Regions from separate parts of the Homo sapiens genome. Here region 1 is linked to region 2. The links are contacts of gene promoters, found by promoter capture Hi-C in human tissues and cell types (Jung and others, 2019). All regions are on one chromosome and are shown on one strand. The core of a region is centred on a gene start or on the middle of the fragment in contact, and the rest is flanking DNA. Distances in the headings are between cores, read along the strand shown. Region 1 has its middle 170 kb from the start of LINC01747. Region 2 holds the start of GZF1 (GDNF inducible zinc finger protein 1).

What was found. The method cuts DNA at HindIII sites, captures the fragments that hold promoters and counts their contacts. A contact is called where the count stands out against the background at its distance.
Region 1: a fragment that was not itself captured here is called in contact with the fragment with the promoter of GZF1 in region 2 in 1 of the 25 tissues and cell types used here (heart right ventricle).

Annotation. Positions count from the first base shown.
Region 1 is chr20:22,853,279-22,856,113 of GRCh38, forward strand. No RefSeq gene overlaps it. Among named protein-coding and RNA genes, the nearest start is that of LINC01747, 170 kb to the left of the region's middle. The HindIII fragment of the contact is 5,856 bases long and covers 1-2,835 here.
Region 2 is chr20:23,360,891-23,363,590 of GRCh38, forward strand. It overlaps GZF1 (GDNF inducible zinc finger protein 1), which reads left to right and starts at 1,292. Exons shown (of 6, transcript NM_022482.5): 1 at 1,292-1,347. RefSeq lists silencers at 578-667, 1,088-1,577 and an enhancer at 758-1,017. The HindIII fragment of the contact is 9,373 bases long and covers 1-2,700 here.

The DNA of each region.
Region 1 (2,835 bases), core at 74-2,573, 510 kb before region 2:
TCCAGCCAAACTAAGCTTCACGAGTGAAGGGGAAATAAAATCCTTTACAGACAAACAAATGCTAAGAGATTTTGTCACCACCAGGCCTGCCTTACAAGAGCTCCTGAAGGAAGCACTAAACGTGGAAAGGAACAACCGGTACCAGACACTGCAAAAACACGCCAAATTGTAAAGACCATCAAGGCTAGGAAGAAACCGCATCAACTAACGGGCAAAATAACCAGCTAACATCATGATGACAGGATCAAATTCACACATAACAATATTAACGTTAAATGTAAATGGGATAAATGCCCCAATTAAAAGACACAGACTGGCAAATTGGTTAAAGAGCCAAGACCGCTCAGTGTGCTGTATTCAGGAGACCCATCTCATGTGCAGAGACACACTTAAGCTCAAAATAAAGGGATGGAGGAAGATCTACCAAGCAAATGGAAAGCAAAAAAAAGCAGGGGTTGCAATCCTAGTCTCTGATAAAACAGACTTTAAACCAACAAAGATCAAAAGAGACAAAGAAGGCCATTACATAATGGTAAAGGGATCAATTCAACAAGAAGAGCTAACTATCCTAAATATATATGCACCCAATACACAAGCACCCAGATTCATAAAGCAAATCCTTAGAGACCTAGAAAGAGACTTAGACTCCCATACAATAATAATGGGAGACTTTAACACCCCACTGTCAATATTAGAGAGATCAATGAGACAGAAGGTTAACAAGGATATCCAGGACTTGAACTCAGCTCTGCACCAAGTGGACCTAATAGACATCTACAGAATTCTCCACCACAAACCAACAGAATACACATTCTTATCAGCACCACCTCACACTTATTCTAAAACTGACCACATGATTGGAAGTAAAGCACTCCTCAGCAAATGTAAAAGAACAGAAATCACAACAAATTGTCTTTCAGATCACAGTGCAATCAAAGTAGAACTGAGGATTAAGAAACTCACTCAAAACCACACAACTACATGGAAAATGAATAACCTGCTCCTGAATGACTACTGGGTACATACGAAATGAAGGCAGAAATAAAGATATTCTTTGAAACAAATAAGAACAAATACACAACATACCAGAATCTCTGGGACACATTTAAAGCAGTGTGTAGAGGGAAATTTGTAGCACTAAATGCCCACAAGGGAAAGCAAGAAAGATCTAAAATCAACACCCTAACATCATAATTAAATGAACTAGAGAAGCAAGAGCAAACAAATTCAAAAGCTAGCAGAAGGCAAGAAATAACTAAGATCAGAGAAGAACTGAAGGAGATAGAGACACAAAAAAACCCTTCAAAAAATCAATGAATCCAGGACTTACTTTTTTGAAAAGATCAACAAAATTGATAGACTGCTAGCAAGACTAATAAAGAAGAGAGAAGAATCAAATAGATGCAATAAAAAATGATAAAGGGATATCACCACCGATCCCACAGAAATACAAACTACCATCAGAAAATACTGTAAACACCCCTACACAAATAAACTACAAAATCTAGAAGAAATGGATAAATTCCCGGACATATACACTCTCCCAATACTAAACCAGGAAGAAGTTGAATCCCTGAATAGACCAATAACAGGCTCTGAAATTGAGGCAATAATTAATAGCCTACTAACCAAAAAAACTACAGGACCAGATGGATTCACAGCAGAATTCTACCAGAGGTAAAAAGAGGAGCTGTTACCATTCCTCCTGAAAATATTCCATCAATAGAAAAAGAGGGAATCCTCCCTAACTCATTTTATGAGGCCAGCATTGTCCTGATACGAAAGCCTGGCAGAGACACAACAGAAAAAGGGAATTTTAGACCCATATCCCTGTGAACATCGATGTGGAAATCCTCAATAAAATACTGGCAAACCAAATCCAGCAGCACATCAAAAAGCTTATCCACCACAATCAAGTTTGTTTCATCCCTGGGATGCAAGGCTGGTTCGACATATGCAAATTAATAAACGTAATCCATCACATAAACAGAACCAAAGACAAAAACCACATGATTATCTCAATAGATGCAGAAAAAGCCTTCAACAAAATTCAACAGCCTTCATGCTAAAAACTCTCAATAAACTAGATATTGATGGAACGTATCTCAAAATAATAAGAGCTATTTATGATAAACCCACAGCCAATATCATACTGAATGGGCAAAAACTGCAAGCATTCCCTTTGAAACTTGGCACAAGACAGGGATGCCCTCTCTCACCACTCCTATTCAACATAGTGTTGGAAGTTCTGGTCAGGGCAATCAGGCAAGAGAAAGAAATAAAGCGTATTCAATTAGGAAAAGAGAAAGTCAAATTGTCTCTATTTGCAGATGACATGATTGTATATTTAGAAAACCCCATCATCTCAGCCAAAAGTCTCCTTATGCTGATAAAGCAACTTCAGCAAAGTTTCAGGATACAAAATCAATGTGCAAAAATCACAAGCATTCTTATACACCAATAACAGACCAACAGAGAACCAAATGATGAGTGACCTCCCATTCACGATTGCGACAAAGTGAATAAAATATCTAGGAATCCAACTTACAAGGGATGTGAAGGACCTCTTCAAGGAGAACTACAAACCACTGCTGAACAAAATAAAAGAGGACACAAACAAATGAAAGAACATTCCATGCTCATGGATAAAAGGAATCATTATCGTGAAAATGGCCATACTGCCCAAGGTAATTTATAGATGCAATGCCATCCCCATCAAGCTACCAATGACTTTCTTCATAAAACTGGAAAAAACTACTTTAAAGTTCATATGGAACCAAAAAACAGCCCACGTTGCCAAGACAATCCTAAGCAAAAAAAGAAAAAAAAAAGCTG
Region 2 (2,700 bases), core at 42-2,541:
CCCCCATTAAAACTGGGAGACAGGGGCATTAACTCCCTTGATACTTAAAGAGATGGCTCCTAGGTCCTAGAAAAAGACATATCTAGGTTATAAAGCGCACAAAAAGGCCTAACTAGTCTTCAAAAGGATTTATATATTTCAAAGAGAGGAAAAAGTACTTACACTAATTACCAATTTTCTAAAAGTAAATGTTCGAAGAAAAAGGGAGGGAAATCTCATATTTTCAACAGGAAGTAGTAAACCTTATTTTAAATTTGTATTTGTCCTGACAGTCCCCAAACATTACAAACTCAACGTGTCGGTAAGACAAGGCTGAGTTAACTGCTGGCCACAGTAAGGGACAGCATGACCTGGCAAAGCTTTACCAATGGCTGGGAGCAAAAGGCAAGGTCAGTTTATTGAGAACTGGAAGTCTGACTCAAGGAAGGTGTTTCAAAGCGGGCTTTAGTTAGTATTGAGCAAGAATTGGTGGAAACAGCAAGATTTCGAGGAGTCAGCGAATCTTAGGGAATCAATTGTGCTTTCCCCGAAGAGTGGATGGGTCTCTGGGGAAGTTCTGTAGTGAACAAAGCTTTCGCCCGAATGGGAACTCCTGGAAATAAAGCCCTGCAGTAAAGACGGCAGGGTGCGGTCCCGGCTCCTGGCGCGCCGAGCCCCCCAGCAGGGCGGGGGCACCGCGGAAGAAGCGCCCCAGAGGAGAGCGCCGCGCCGAGCCCCGCCTGGCGCCAGTTCTCCAGCGCCCGTGGAGGCATCTGCGCCCCTAGTAGCCAAGGTGAGTACCAGCTCCAAGCCCGGCTTTCCGCGAGGTCCCTCGCGTGGCCACCGTGCCCTAAGGGTGCGCTCGGCCTCGGGGACGTGAGCAGCTCTTAGTGGGAAGCCAGCTGCAGGCCCTGACCGCAGGCTGCTGGGGCCCGGAAGCGCTGGCGCCTTGCGGCCAGAAGCCCGGAATGGACGCGAAAGTGACCACGCGAATCTGACGCTCACGTGACTTTTCGCGACTGGCCCCGCCCCCCTGTGGCGTGCCGCAGCGCAGACGTCGCTGTCTCCTGCGCAGGCGCAGGCCTTGGCTCGCGGCGGGTGACGCAATGCGGCGGGTGACGCAATCCGGCGTCGCCAGTCAGTCGCGCGGCCAGATCAGGTAACTGCCCGAACCGCTCCGCCGCCCGACGTGTGGCTCAGCCCCTTCCTCAGCCCCGCCAGGGGCGGGGCCGGCCGCGGGAGGGGAGGGGCCTGCAGCGACCAATCGGCGGTGCCCGCGCAGGGTGCTACGCCACGCCCAGCCGGGCCGGCCGTTCCTACCGGCCTGGTCCAGCGGACAGCGGCTGCAGCGGGGGCGCCGGCTGGGAGGTGAGTGCGCGGCCCGTAGGCCTGGCTCCGGCCCCTCGCCGCCCGCCGCCGCCTCTTTGTCCGCGCGCCCCGGCTGCTCTGTGGACCTGCGCGTCTCGGGGATGCGGGAGCGGGGGCAGGGGGCGGCCCGAGGGCCTGATCCACGCGGCCCCGGATGCCCGCGTCGGGAGGCGGCGCGTCGGGCCGAGGAGGGGCTTCTCTGTGGCTGCAGTAGTTTGTTCTCTGGGTCGTCTTTGGAGTGGCCGAGCGGCGTCCGGGCGCTGGGGCGGCCAAGTGGCGCGGGAAGGGTGGGAGGTGCCGTGAGGGCGGCGAGGACAGCGGCGGATTTAAGCCCCACTGGAAACCCCGGCCCTTGTGGCCGTGGACTGGGCTGCGGGTAGCAGCGTCTCCTGGAAGGGCTCTGGCCCCGTGAGCCTCGGGGATTCAGGGGCCGCCGACGTTGGTGCAGATGCCGGGCGCACTGGGAGGCGGCCGGAATGCCAATGAGATTCGGCGGATACGCAGCTGTCACCGGCCGCAGACTGCCCTGTCGCCACCTCCAGTGCCTGCACTCCAGTAGCCAAGCAACATAGGAAATCGCGCTCAGAACCCACTTTGTTGATTGAGAAATCAGGTCTCCTCGAGGGCCCTGTTGGCAGAGGTCTGGGGAAGTCAGGGCATCAGGCTGAGAGAGCCCTCTGCAGTCTTGTTTCCCCAGGCTGGGGCTGGGACCACTGAAACCCCAGTGGCTCTATAAGAGCCCCACTCTTATAGATCCCTTCCTTAGGCTTTGTCAGTGTTCTCACAGTTTTACTGGGGCGTCTCCTTCAGGCGACATTGATCAAGCCTCATAGGTACCTGTTTACAGCGGAACTCCCAGAGGGCAGTCTTTTCCATGTTTGAGGGACTGCTAGTTGTGGGGAGCGGTCTCATTGATGAGACTGGAGAAGGGGAGAGGGGTGGGACTAGTTTATCAGGGAAGATGATGACAACTTTTTTTCTAGACACGTTGAATCCGAGGTGACATCTGTGGTCTGGCCGAAGGAGGCTAGAAGGAAGGCATGTGCTTTGGATGGATGGAAACAGGAATCAAAGAGGAAGGTAGATTCAGGAGCTGAAGGGCAGGGAGAAAACACATTCAGGGAGTTTGTGGCAAAGCAGCAGAAATGACGATGGGGTGACGGTATCTGGAGGCCTTAGGTGGGGTTGGTGAAATTTGCATGCCCGCTGCAGTGGAAAGATTTAGGGGCTAAAGATAGCCCTTTGCCTTTGGCAAGGCTGAGGGGAAGAGTGTGTTGAGTAGTCTGAGTTGAATCCGGGCACCAGGCCCTGGCTCATGTCCCAACCAGCCATTGACTGTTACCTTGATAGGTC